Regions from separate parts of the Homo sapiens genome. Here regions 2 and 3 are each linked to region 1. The links are contacts of gene promoters, found by promoter capture Hi-C in blood cells and fetal thymus (Javierre and others, 2016). All regions are on one chromosome and are shown on one strand. Each heading gives the region's core, a stretch centred on a gene start or on the middle of the fragment in contact. The rest is flanking DNA. Distances are from core to core; before and after follow the strand shown.

What was found. Contacts are between HindIII fragments. The CHiCAGO score rates a contact against its expected background, and 5 or more counts as called.
Region 2: a fragment that was not itself captured here is called in contact with the fragment with the promoter of ID4 in region 1 in 1 of 17 cell types (endothelial precursors); the score reaches 5.1 in endothelial precursors.
Region 3: a fragment that was not itself captured here is called in contact with the fragment with the promoter of ID4 in region 1 in 1 of 17 cell types (endothelial precursors); the score reaches 5.5 in endothelial precursors.

Annotation. Positions count from the first base shown.
Region 1 is chr6:19,834,176-19,838,672 of GRCh38, reverse strand. It overlaps ID4 (inhibitor of DNA binding 4), which reads right to left and starts at 1,303. Exons shown (of 3, transcript NM_001546.4): 1 at 478-1,303; 2 at 31-89. The coding sequence starts at 918. The coding sequence ends at 45. The HindIII fragment of the contact is 2,827 bases long and covers 1-2,010 here.
Region 2 is chr6:18,976,483-18,980,979 of GRCh38, reverse strand. It overlaps LOC105374958 (a long non-coding RNA gene), which reads right to left and starts at 3,867. Exons shown (of 5, transcript XR_001744010.1): 1 at 3,802-3,867. The HindIII fragment of the contact is 848 bases long and covers 1,578-2,425 here.
Region 3 is chr6:19,006,629-19,011,125 of GRCh38, reverse strand. All of the region lies in intron 1 of LOC105374958 (a long non-coding RNA gene), which reads right to left. Among named protein-coding and RNA genes, the nearest start is that of TRQ-CTG1-1, 170 kb to the right of the region's middle. The HindIII fragment of the contact is 275 bases long and covers 2,481-2,755 here.

The sequences.
Region 1 (4,497 bases), core at 54-2,553:
GGCCACCCGAGACGGGAAATGCGCGCTCACCTGGACAGCGCGGCTCAGCGGCACAGAATGCTGTCGCCCTGCTTGTTCACCGCGCCGGCCTGGAACAGCAACCGAACACCAAGGGAAAGGTTAGCAGGCGCAAACAACGCGCTCGACACGGTCCTGGATTGTCCTCGGAAATCAGGCTGGCGCGCCGACGCCCCCACCCCAGCCTGTAGCCGGGGGGGCCCCTCCGGGCTCAGGCGGGACTTGACAGCCCAGGGCGCCCACAGCCCCGAGTCCCGCCCTGCGCGTTCTCCCGGACCCGCGCTCGCCGAGCCCGGCCGGCTGCTGGCGGCCCGGGGGAGCCCGGAGGAGCAGGGGGAGGGGGCTGTCATTCCTGGCCCGCCCCTGCCCGGAGGACGGTGAGCGCCCGCGTCCCGCCACCACGCCACCAACCTCCCATCCCCCGCGGCGTCCGCCCACGGCCGGCGCCCGGCCTCTCACCGGGTCGGTGTTGAGCGCAGTGAGCGGGGTCCGCGGCGGCGCGGCTGGACAGGTCCCGGCCGGGTGGTGTGGCGGCGCGGGCGGTGGTGGCTGCCTCAGCAGGGCCGGGTGCGTCTCCAGCGCCAGCTGCAGGTCCAGGATGTAGTCGATAACGTGCTGCAGGATCTCCACTTTGCTGACTTTCTTGTTGGGCGGGATGGTGGGCACCAGCCTCCGCAGGCGGCTATAGCAGTCGTTCATATCGCACTGCAGGCACAGCGCCGGCTCGTCGGCCGCCGCCTCGGCCGCCTTACAGCGCGCTGCCGCCGCCGCCGCCGCCGCGGCTGCGGAGCCACCCAGGCTGTGGCCGTGCTCGGCCAGGCAGCGCAGCGCCAGCTCCCCGCCGCCGCAGCCCGACGGCGCCTTGCGGCCCGAGGGGCGCACCGGGCTCACCGCCTTCATCGCGCGCGCCCTGCGCTCTACGCGAGCGAACCCGCTGGGGCGAGCGAGGGAGGCAGGCAAGCTCCGGGCCCCGTCCGCGGCCGGCTCCGCTCCCTTTGCCTCCGCGCCCGGCGCGCTCGGGGCACCGCGACACTCCCGAGCCCAACAATTGACGGGAGGGTCGCTCTGGGTTTTACGAGGGAATCTTTGCTCAGTGGGCGACACTCAGCCCGAGCCCAAAGGAAAAAAAAAGCAAAAGCACCGGAAGAAAAGTAGCCCACCCGGGTGTCCTAGTCACTCCCTTCGGAGCTCCGACTAAGCCCGATCGCGGCCGCCGCGCTCCCCTAGCCCGGGATCACCCCACTCCCGGTACTACTCACAACCGCGCCTCCTCCACTACGCTCTCGCCCGGCCCGCCGCGCAGCTGTATTTATAGAGCCGTGCGCCCCGGGGGCGGGACCAGCGCGCGGGCCGGGTCGCAGCGCGAGCCGAGCGGAGCCCGCTGGGCGCGCGGGCGGGGGCGCGGAGGGAGAGGCGAGGGCGGGGGCTCCGGGCGGTGCTGGGGGGCGGGGAGTCCGGCTACCCGAGTGGAGGAGTGGGCGGGGGGTCTGGAGTGGCCAGCCAATCAGGCGGGCAGTGCCACCTCGGGGAATGACGCTCGGGCCAATGGGAAGGGCACTCCATTCCGTCAACGCTGTGGGTCGGGGTTCTGAGAAAAGAGAGCTGAGTGGGAGTCGGGCCAGGCTGATGTGTGCCCAAGGGAGGGGAAAAGAGAGAGCGAAGTTCCTGCGAAGAACTGCGGGAATGTGCGGCCGGAATTCACTCTCCACCGCCCCCCTTATCCCGACTAGGCTGCTGAGGGAGCGCCTGGGCCCTGCTCGCGGATACCCTGCCACTCCTAATAGCACGGCGCCCAGGGACCCTCCGCCACCCATCACTCCATCCGTGGGATTCCAGTGCCTTAAGAAAGACGCGCTGTTCAAGAAGGCACGTTCATTCTGTTCTATATTTCCCTCCTCCGTTTCATTATTCGCCTTTTCACATTTGCCGAAACCATAATGATGGAATGGAATGTGTAGCCTTTCCGTTTTCTTTTTAAAAAATGCTAAAGCTTAGCAAAAGTAGAAAAAAAAAGAAGGAAAAGAATGCCGAATCGAATGCAGGTTTTTGGTGAAGGGAATATAAATAAAACAAAAACGTGGGGGGGGTTCTTTTACCCCATCTAAATGCAAAAGTGGGCTCAAGAAATGCAGTTGCCTTGCGCATTCAATTAGAGCACGTAAAGATTAAAAATGCATGGACACGGAATATTTAAAATTCCATTATGACATATAATATTAATCTGTTTTATGTAAAATTCATACCTGTAACTTAATTTAGGCCATTAATGCACAGCTTCACGTATTAGTCAGCGTACCCCGCTTTAAATAAGGTGATGAGAATGTCCAGAGTCGCCTCCTTTGACAGCAAAGCATTAAAATTCACACTTCCAGTCTCTGGGATCCCGCTTGGGCCCCACCCTGCAAAAAAAAGCCTGTTAATTAAGGGCGTTTTTGTGTTAGATTTCTTAGAGAAAAGCTGTCCTTCAAGGGTTCAAAATAAAATTGCACAATGAGCTTTGGTGGAGCATTGTGTGTACCCTTCAAGAAAAAATTGAGCCCTTCAGATGAGAAAGGTGCATAAAAATTCTCAGACAATGGGGAAATGAATTTTGAGTGCCTTCACTCTACAAACCCTCCCACCTTTAGACACGCTTGGAGATGAATTAACCCAAGAATTTTCTTCATTCGTGTACATGACATGGATTGGTGTCTTCATTTTCATAGATAATTGAAAGAAAGAGACATGGACCTCATTTCTTCCTGTCTACCCCTATATGGACTTTTTCTACATCCATTCCCAGAACTGAAATACCTGCACCAGGCAGATATTTTGTTTAGCTATGTCAGTGCTTTATGACTATCGCACTATTCCCCAGAGCACATTCCTTTCTCCTGATGAAATGAGGAGCAACTATTTAATTCTGGTTTCACAGGTAGATGCAATAACCCTCCTCTCCCCTAATCCTTGTATGTTACTGCTTCTAATAATTGTTTGGAAACAAGTGCCATTCTCATTTATTTATGTGCATACGTAGATGGTCTACATACACATTAATCGAGAAAATCAGAATTATGAAACTCAGAAGGGCTTTCTTCTAAAGACAGGCATAGTCATATACATCATTAAATTAATGCAAATACAGAGAAAATGTTGTAATTTTAAATGGGAAGTCGGTGAAGCCAGCACTACTGGTTGTAAGCTATTATCTTGGAGCCAGTCATATGAGCACAGACGATAATAATAAATGGATATATGTACAGATGTTTTGTTCCATTGATCTTTCTCTTTCCTAGAGTTTAAAATTTGCTTCCAAATTCAAAACCCAAGACTTTCCTCTGTTTGGCAAAATAAAACTATGCTAATATGCCCAGGACACACTTACATTTAAACATTTTACATATCCTAACGATTAAAATTAAAATTTAAGTTTTGAATACGTAACACAAAGGAAGAATCATATCGACCTTTTTGGAATTTGCTAAATCTCAGAAAGCCATGCCTTGGGTGTGACAAGCGCCAAATGCCTAAGTTTCAGGTTTTGTTGGAGATGCTCTGTGTGACTGGCTTAAAGTTAGAAAGACTGAGTTACTCTGTGTGGGGTGGGGTGGAAGAGGTGGTTTCAAAGGAATGTACCTCAGCCACAAGATCAAGAATACCCAGGAAAGATGTGATCCGTAAATCCTGCTAGCAGAGTAGGCAGAGGCAGTTACTGTGCTCCTTGTTTTGAAGGTTGGAAGGCATGAAGACATTAAAAAATTAAAGTGCTACCATATACTATGGGAATAAGGAATACAATCCTGCACGTTTTGGTCCATGAAACCAGAGAGTACTAGGGGCTATGCAATGTATGTTTTTGTATTCTTAGACATAGACACTTACATGACATCAAAGCTGCAATCATGGAAGATTCCTGGCACTGATAATTCAAAACAGTTTACCCAATTATCACTCAGATTTTGGATAAACCTTACAAGCTATGTTATTTCTACTGTGCAGAGAAGGTAACTTAGTCTGTTGGTGACTCTTTTACATCAAAGTGTTTCACTTGCACTTGTAAAAGTAAAATGGGCTAACCCAAATCCTTTTGTCATGGAAATGCTCGAGACTCCCAAAATATACCTCAGTAGGAACCTAGAATGAAACATTCATAGGAGAATTGCTAGAAAGCCGTGATGACCAGAGTCATGGATACACCCTTCCTCCAGACAAAGAGGTCTGCTGTCCTCCCTGAGATGTATTCTAGCTACTAAATCAGGCCCTCACTGAACTGCAACACCCAGGCCTTTAGAAGTCATAGTCACCCTGTGTTTACATGAAGCAAGGGTATGGAAGCATATTGTGCTCTTCATTCCCAGTGCCTTTTTAGGACTTGATACTTGTTTCTCCATAGCCTCCAGGGAAACAGTGAGTGTACTCATACACAGATAAACGTGAATGTTCCAATGCCTTGGTCACTCTGTAGATTTGTCGTCACAGAAAGAGGCACATGCATTCTTT
Region 2 (4,497 bases), core at 752-3,251, 860 kb after region 1:
ATGCTTTCAAAATATTTTGAGAATTTTGAATACTTGAATAGATGTAAAGCACAGTCATACAGAAACCTATACTTTTATATACACACATCTATATAATTATATGTTCCCTTTAAATCAATCATACTGATATTAGCTAATATTAATTGTCTCATTAGGAATCCTGTTAGCCAGAGCTAGAGTCAAGGATCCTTGAGAAATCTAATTGACTCAAGTTAATTGTAATTTTTCCTAGGGGTTTTATTACGATAATTCCTAAGTTGATTATAATATTCTACATTTTTGCACAACACTGAGATTCTTCAAATGAATTATACTTATATGATGACAAAATGTTTGATGATAAAGACAAAGCCTATTATGTTTCATTTGGATCATTCTCTCTATCTTCTATGTTTACCCCAGCTCTTTTCTCACTTTCTATTTTTCTTTGTTTTCTCTGTGTATGTTTTTTTAAATTATCACTTTGTTAGCTGGATCTGTGTTATAAGTGTCTTGTTCTCCTAGTCCATCTCAGTGAAAGGTAGCATAGCCAGGCAGAAAGGATGTGTGTTCTAGAATCACAAGGTCCTAAATAGAAGCTCTAGCTTTTTCACTTACTGTATGATCTTTGAAAAACACAATTTGTATTAACTTCTGTTTTCTCTGCTCTAACGGTGCAGTACTCTACATATACAAGGTAATGTTCAATATGAGAGGTAGAAATTTAGCCATTTAACATCCAGTAAAATTTGGGGGGATATATCTATTCATATAGCATACAGTATGGATTCAAAAAGACTTTTTTGTAAGTAATTGTAGTTTTTAAATTTAGTTTTGACAAAAGCTGTTTTGTTTCTTTTATTTACTCATTTAAATGAAAAATGTGAACTTGAAAGAATGTTCTTCCAGAAAGATCATTCAAGCGCCATCTCTTCCTCCATCTATTAGCCGAATGACATTAGACAAATCATTTAATTTCCTGAATCTGTTTCCTAACTTGTGAAATCAAAGAGTCAGAAAAGATCACCTCTAAGGTGTTCCAGCTCTGAAAACTTTAATTGTAATTTTCCTTTACTGGGTTAAAATATTAATCACTCTTTAATAATGACATGTTCCAATCATGATCTACAACAGCTTATCCACAAATTCCACTTGATAACACATACTTAGAAAAAAATTACATCCTTAAAAATCTTTTGTGGATTTTTTAATATTAATACTTATCTTGTATTTTAGCCATCATGTACATGTTTGAAACATGCATGCTTTATAATACATGTATCATCTAAAGGGCTACCAACTAAATAACTTCCCAGTGGATGTATGGATATCTAATATTCCACAGCCAGAGCCCAAAGAAAATCCTCAGTTACTGATATTCCACAAAAACTGTGAGGCCTGTGCCTATTGTGTTTTATTTTCTTCCAGTTTTATGCCAGTCTCTAAATCCTATGCTCTCATTTTGTACTTAGTTTCTTTGATTTAGAGCCAGATATAAAGTAGGAGATATAGAATTTGTAACTACATTCTTGACTCAATTATCAAAATTCACTGCACAAAATGGACTTATATTCCTCTACGCATATCTTTCCAAAGCTTCTCCAAAGCCTTAGCATTTGAAATAATTTTATATTTCAGATTCCATTTGGATAATTGTTGGATGGTAATGACAGGTCATATGTTTAATGCACTTTCCAGATTGAAAGTCATTTAAATATCTATATCTTAGGGCCAACAATTTCCAAAGGTAATCACCTTAGTTTGCTACATTTCACTTGCATGTGTTACAGGCAGAAGGTGACACTGTTTTGAAAATTGGCAATGAAGAACATAAATACCATTTTACATGTATCATTCTTAGTTCCCTAAAGGAAAATGTGTGTGGTTGTATAGATATGAATTACATGCATGCTGTATATGGTCTACAGATTTTTTTTGTGATTTAATATTGAATAAAACATATTAGCATCTACGTAAGTGCTGAGGCCTAATGAAAATTGAGCAATTAATTGGGAAATTAGATTAATCATCAACATGTTAAAACTGACTTTTCCAAAGGTGACAGGATGTAGTACAAAGGTTATGTGCTGGACAAACAGGCAGATATCAGTTTGAATCCCAGTTTCTAATCATTTAAATTTTAGAAAGTTATTTAACTGATTTAACAATTTTTCACATTGAAAATATGGATAATAATGTCTATTCCCTAAGACTATTTCAAAATGTGATAAAATGTAAATGCAGGTGGTCCGAGGACTTCATAATGAGGACCACTTTATTAAAAATTTTAGCTCCCCAAAGACAAAATTCAAAGTTATATCCTAGGAATTAAGGGTCATTCTAGTTAATTTATCTAATAACTGTTTCCTGATATAACTGTCTAGTATCCTAACAGGGGTGTGAGGCATTGTGAGTTGCTAGGCAACGTAGGAAAGCAAATAAAGCTTCAGTTTGCCTGGGTAGGAATGTAAGTCAGCTACAGAGGCAGATCCCAAAGAAGGAATCTGTAGAGAGTTTTTAGTCTTACTCAGCCTTTACAATCATATTACCATTGAAGGAAAATTGGTACTATTATGTTCCCCACCTCCATGTTTTACAAACTAAGCCTTAGAAAGTTTCCTGAAGACAGATATTCTATGGTGGTAGGTAGTGAGATTTTCTAATTTCAGGATGGTATTGTTTAGTGACAAAAGGATGATAAGTAGTAAATATTTCTTAACTGTGGAAATGCCTATAACACACTTAGTGGTTATCTAATCTGTGGGTTCATCAAAGGGCCATGCTTTATTTATTTTTACACTTTACTCTTACCCCAGAATCTGGAATGTGTATGGCACTTAATAAACATTTCTTGACTGAAGAACTATGTTTTTATAATGTAAAATATGGATAATAGTCCTAGCTGGCTTTACATAAATATTGGGCAGTAGATAGTGAAGTTTCCTTTTTTCAGTAGAACTGAAACAATCAAAGAAATGTTATTTTAGTAAATGTTGATCTCTTTTCATTCTTTCTCCCTGGACATTCTCTGAAATCTCTGTCAATGGAATTTGTTTACTCCAAATCACATCTTTGTTGCCTTTGAGTATTACCATGTTTGAATGTTTACCACTCAAATCCAGCATAAAAGTGTCTTCTTTTTTAGGTAAGATCAGGCAAAGAGGTACTGAATGAATAACACTTGATTGGGAATGGTAAATAACCATGCAATTAAACTGTAAACACTGTGTGTGGTGATTTTAATGTAATTTGAGGACTTGTAAATTATATGGTCATAAAATGGCACTTGGGCTTATGCTTTACAAAAATATCCATGTTTGTATGAGATTAATTAGCGCAGTTTGCATAAAGACATTGAGTAAAGCACTTTCTGAACATTCTCATTTGTAAGGTTTTCTTATTTATAAGGCTTTCTTTTTATTTCTTTCTGTGGTCTTGAAGAAATTATTATCATTGTCCACAGATTTCTGTAGCTGCAAATTAATCTGGACACCAGTAAAGAGTTGATGGGTTTCAGTTCTGCTTAAAAAATAGATTTTTAGTTCTTAAAATGGGTTGGTCATTTTACAGGCTGATTATATCGTTACTTCTTTGGTTCAATTCATGGATCATCAGATGCCCAAATAGGGCTTTTTCACTGTTGGGAGAGTTTATATGCATTATGTTATGAATCACACATACTGCAGCCCAAGGGAAATAACTGTAGCAGAGTGGCTATTAAGTGCTGTTACCACTGCTTTCCACTCATTGCAAGTTTTGCCTAGCAAGGGTCTCCTTTTGGTGTGTGTGATGGTAACAGTAGGAGACCCAAGGTAATCTTACCATCTGAGGCAGCTCTTGTGTTTTTCCATCTCCAGGAAACTTTCACTTTGCAAACTCAGACTCAAGTTACCATGGCACTACTGGGAATTCTCATAGATTATGTTATGATGAAATAATGACGGTGGTGAGGATGATGGTGTAAAATTTGTGATGACTATTTTCCAGGTGCTCTGCTGAGTGTTTTATATTCTTTACCTCATATAATCCTTACAACACCACCGCTGATTTTTAAAAATTATCACTTTATACATGAGAAAACTGAAATGTAGAGAGTCTAAATGATTTGTGCAAGGTCCCACAGCTTGTTTGTCTAGCTCCAAAATCTTTGCTCTTAACGCTTTTTTTTTTTTTTTTTTTTTTTTTTTGGAGATGAACTCTCACCCTGTCACCCAGGCTGGAGTGCAATGCTGTGATCTCGGCTCACTGCAACCTCCACCTCCCGGATTCAAGCAATTCTCCTTCCTCAGCCTCCCTAGTAGCTGGAATTGTAGGCACATGCCACCATGCCTGGCTAATTTTTTGTATCTTTAGTAGACACATGGTTTCACCATGTTGGCCGAGCTGGTCCCAAACCCCTGACCTCATGATCTGCCTGCCTCGGCCTCCCAATGTGCTGAGATTATAGGCATGAGCCACTGTGCCTGGCCAATTTTTTTGATATATTGCTTCAGCATAGATGAGGGCTACGCATTCCTT
Region 3 (4,497 bases), core at 1,369-3,868, 830 kb after region 1:
TCTTGGAGAATGAAATTTTCTCTTCAAGGTAAAAGTATTTAACAAGAGGTTTTCTTTTCCCTCCATAATGTTGTGTGTCCGTGCCTATGCATATCTGAGATTAAAATAAAAAAATAGAATTAGAGAAACGGTTGGTATAGGTAGGTAATATCAGAAAGCCTCAAATCTCTATTGCTATCCTTGCCACAACAATCTGCCAATTGCCTGCTGGATGGAAGTTATGTTGCTATGTACTGAAGATACATAAAATTAAACATTTGGCCTCTGCTATCAATAAAATATTATATGATGTTTTGATTAACTTAATATTTTCCTGAACATTGCTTTTAGGAGGAACTCATAAATGACCTGAAAAAGTTTATCTTTTTCTATGTTTTACAGTGGTACCTGATTTTCCCCGTGGGCTCTGAAAAGCAATAAATCATCAAAGTAGAAATTTTATTCACTGACCTGTACCTACTAAGGCAAAATTTCTAAATGATACATTTTAGGATGATCTAACAGAAACTGGAACAGCAAAGGGATTGACACCAGCAGAAGGTCACAATCCCTTGAGTTCTGGTTAATGGAGACCATATTGTGCATTTATCATCAATTAAATGAGGGTATAGAAGGCCATTCACAAATGTTAGTTATGTAGAGATAGAGGAAATAAGGAGAAAAAAAACCTTATTGGACATATTAACGAAAACTGGCCCTTCAATGGAGCAGATGATCTGAGATCATCTATCTCTGATACTTTGTAGTGGTATGATATTGAGAAAATTCCTTAACTTCTATGAGCTTGCATTTTCTTAATTTTAAAAACATGTATAATAAAATTATGAATCACAGAAATTTTATCAGTGTTACATGAGTAAAAGATTTTAGAAGCACCTAGTGATACGTTTGGTACATATAATATTAATTAATCTTTTATTCAATCTTTCATTTGTTCAAAACCCACTTAGCATTTGCAAATACAGTGACATAATCCTTGAATATAATGACTCTGTATACCTAAGAACTGCTGATTTCCAAATTTCGAGATTTGCAAATGGATTCACCAATCTGCCAAGATCTGCACGAAATGTTTCAACAGAGCAATTATAAGTTAACTCTCTCTTTTGTTTCATGCTTCATTTTTAGATGTTTCATAACCAACTCCTTTGGAAAGAAAAAAAAGTAGCACATCAGCAATTTTTAAGCACGTTAGGATTTGAACAGCTGAATGACAGTATCTCCTGGAGGAAAGATTTTCTACTCACAGAACCTGAGATGAGAATCATCTGTCCCAGTTTTACAAATTAAAAAGGAAAAAAGAAACTCCAGTGCCTTTTCTGCCAGTATTTTCTGATGTTGAAATTCTGATACAAATATTCAAGTTCAATGCAATCCCATCATGAGCGTATGTGTATGAATGAATACGTATACATATATATGATAGACTCCTGACAATCAAAATAATGTTTTACAGGCAAGAATTCTTTAAATTAGAAAGCTACTAAAATGCATTTAACTTGCTTTGTGAGAAAGCTAACCCTTTGTCTGTAACTCCCAACCCTGGTTGCAAAATGCAATGACCTAGGCTGACTCTTTTTTTTTAATCCTATATCTAGAAGTTTCTCATTCTGATTTAATTGGTCTGGGATGACTACATTGGGATACAGACTACATTGGGATATTTATAAAGTTTCTCAGGTGATTTTTAACATGTACAAAGTTGAGAAACAATGCCCTACACCAGTGATTAGTGGCACATGGCCTTGGTAGTACATTACAGTCACCTGGGGGAGCTTTAAAAAATACTGATTCCCAGGGCATACCCCAGATTTATTAAATAATAAGAATAAGAGGGGAGAACCACAGTCATCAATATTTTTAAAACTCCCCAGCATAGGCTACCTGGGTTGAGAGACACTGCCTGTGCTCTGCCAGTGATATAATGATTATGATGTACATTAGACATCAGATGATTCATTATCCCGCCTATATCTCAACTCACTGCAGCTGGGACTCATATTAGACACCTCATCTTTGTTTCACATATAGAATTAACAAAATTAATTTCAGGTTCTATCATACCTTTACTAAGATGAACATTGTGTCAGTGATCAGAGAATTGCCTCTAGTGTTTCTGACATATTTGCTTTCACAATATTTTGAGAACTAATAGTCTACTCTGAGCAAATATTAATATCATTCCATGTGAGTAAATTTCGTCCTGGAATTGACTGTGGGCAATTCATGATTTCACGAGCACTGGGGTCTCTATTCCTTTGCTGGAAATTTTGATACCACCGATATATGTCACATTTTAGGCACATTTAACTGTGCAGCCGGTATTGGGTTAGACTATACCCTTCATGCTCATGACTCTTTAATATCTGCTAATTTCAGAAGATCTTTTGAATATCGTAGGGAAGTGTAGGTCCCTTTTACTTATCACCATTTTTCTAAAGCTCATCACGCTCCAACATTAGAGAAGTTTCAAGGAAGCTTCATCTTAATATTGACACCTTGATATGACCTGTCCCCAAAGAAGAACTGTCACGTTTGTGATCAGTATCTTCCCTCAAATAGCAATGGAAGCATTGGTCTGGAATTATTGAGTAATTTGACTTAGTGATAATTATGGTAGTCTACAGATACTAGAGATTATTATGCATTTATTACATGATCTTTGCTTAGAACTATTTTTACACGGTCTTTGTTGGCTCTCTTGTAAATCTGTTTCAGAGCAGGATCCTCAGGAAGCTGTATTTGAAATGAAGCTTTGTTAGATGAGAAATCAAATTCACAATCCTTCTGTGGTTTTGGTGCAAGAGCTCCATCTGGAAATGGACCAGCCCTTACTGCCTCAGCATATGTCCCAGGGACTACATTCTCCCAATAATTGAACACTTTGATTCCAAATGCAGCACAGTTTTCTCTCTTCATGCTGTTATTCACCTATCTCTGAGCATGCAAACTTCAGGAAGCCAAAGTGAGTGTAGAAAGATATTTATAATGAAGAAATAAAAAAATCCTTATCATAATTAGGTGATGCTGAAATATTCTTCTAGTTGGCATTCTGCCCAGGAGTTTAAAGGGTTTTTACTTAGTTCTGACTTTGCTTACCTGTAAACCAACCGAGTTCCCTCCATTTCCCTGCAGTTTGGCATTTTAGTGTTACAAACCATTATTCATTGGAAGTCATCAAAAGACAAGGGACCTTTTTCATTACAAAGCTCCTGGGTGGAATAAAATGGCTTACATTGTTGAAGGGAAAAGGGGGACAAGAAATGAGTATTTTCTTTCTAGAAAACACACACAAACACACACACACACACACACACACACACCTGTATATCTGCAATCCAGATGGCCATGGTGCCCTGGATGGGGAAGAAATAATCCACTTACTTCTTCTTTTGCTTTTTATATGGACTACCACGAATGGCCAATCCTGACCCTCAGGGACTGCTCTTTAAGTGTTCTTAAAATTGAAATAGAATTGGAAGTGTCAGTTTCTGGACCATGTCCATGTCACCACAGGTGGAAACACAATGGTTAAACTAGGATGGACAGGAACTAAGGAGTCAATCAACTTTGACCTGGATTGGCATCCAATATGGAGGATTTCCGTAATAATAACAGGACACAGTTCTCTTTAGGCTTCCCTTTATCCTTAGCTCTGATATATTAGATTCTTACATATTCTATGTTTTTAACTGAAACAGCCTGCTGCTAAAGCCTTCAGACTACTCTAATTCTGGAAGCCTAATTTCAGACTACTCTGCCTCCTCCCAGAGGGAACGAAAGCCAGGGAGAGATGCTAAAGCCATAATCCTCAAAGGATAGTTCTGCTTGCAGATCTAGGGCTTTCATTTAAAAGAATGACTCAAAAGGCCATTTCTAGGCTCGTGAATCTCAAAAGTCAATGTCGATGAGTATTATCTCAGACACTTGTAAGAAATGCGTACATTCAAGCCCCTTTTTTCTGATTCGGAAGTTCTGAGTTCAGGTTTGGGGCCAGGGGATCTGATATTTCACTGCATATGATCCTGATGTAGTCGTTCGGTGGAATACACAAGAGTCACTAAACTAAACTACAATAGACTTGGGAACGCAGAAATAGGAAGTTTCTTAGATTTTTCTTGAGATGTGGATTTTAAGGTATATTTGTTATATTTTCTCTTAGTTTATTTTAAATACCAGGTAACCCTGAGACACACTGAAACCTGAAAGTCATATAAAGTTATGTCTAATTTAGTGTGCCTGAGTACATAAATTGGTTCAGATTAGCTAATGAGGACACATTCATTCATTTGGCAAATAATAGTTAAACTTTTTTTTTTGAGATAATCTTGCTCTGTTACCCAGGCTAGAGTGCAGTGGCATGAACACAGCTCACTGCCGCCTTGAACCCCTGGGCTTAAGCAATCCTCCTGCCTCAGATTCTCAAGTAGTTGGGACCAGAGGCGTATGCCACCACACCCAGCTAATTTTTTTTCTCTTAATTTTTTTTTTCATGGA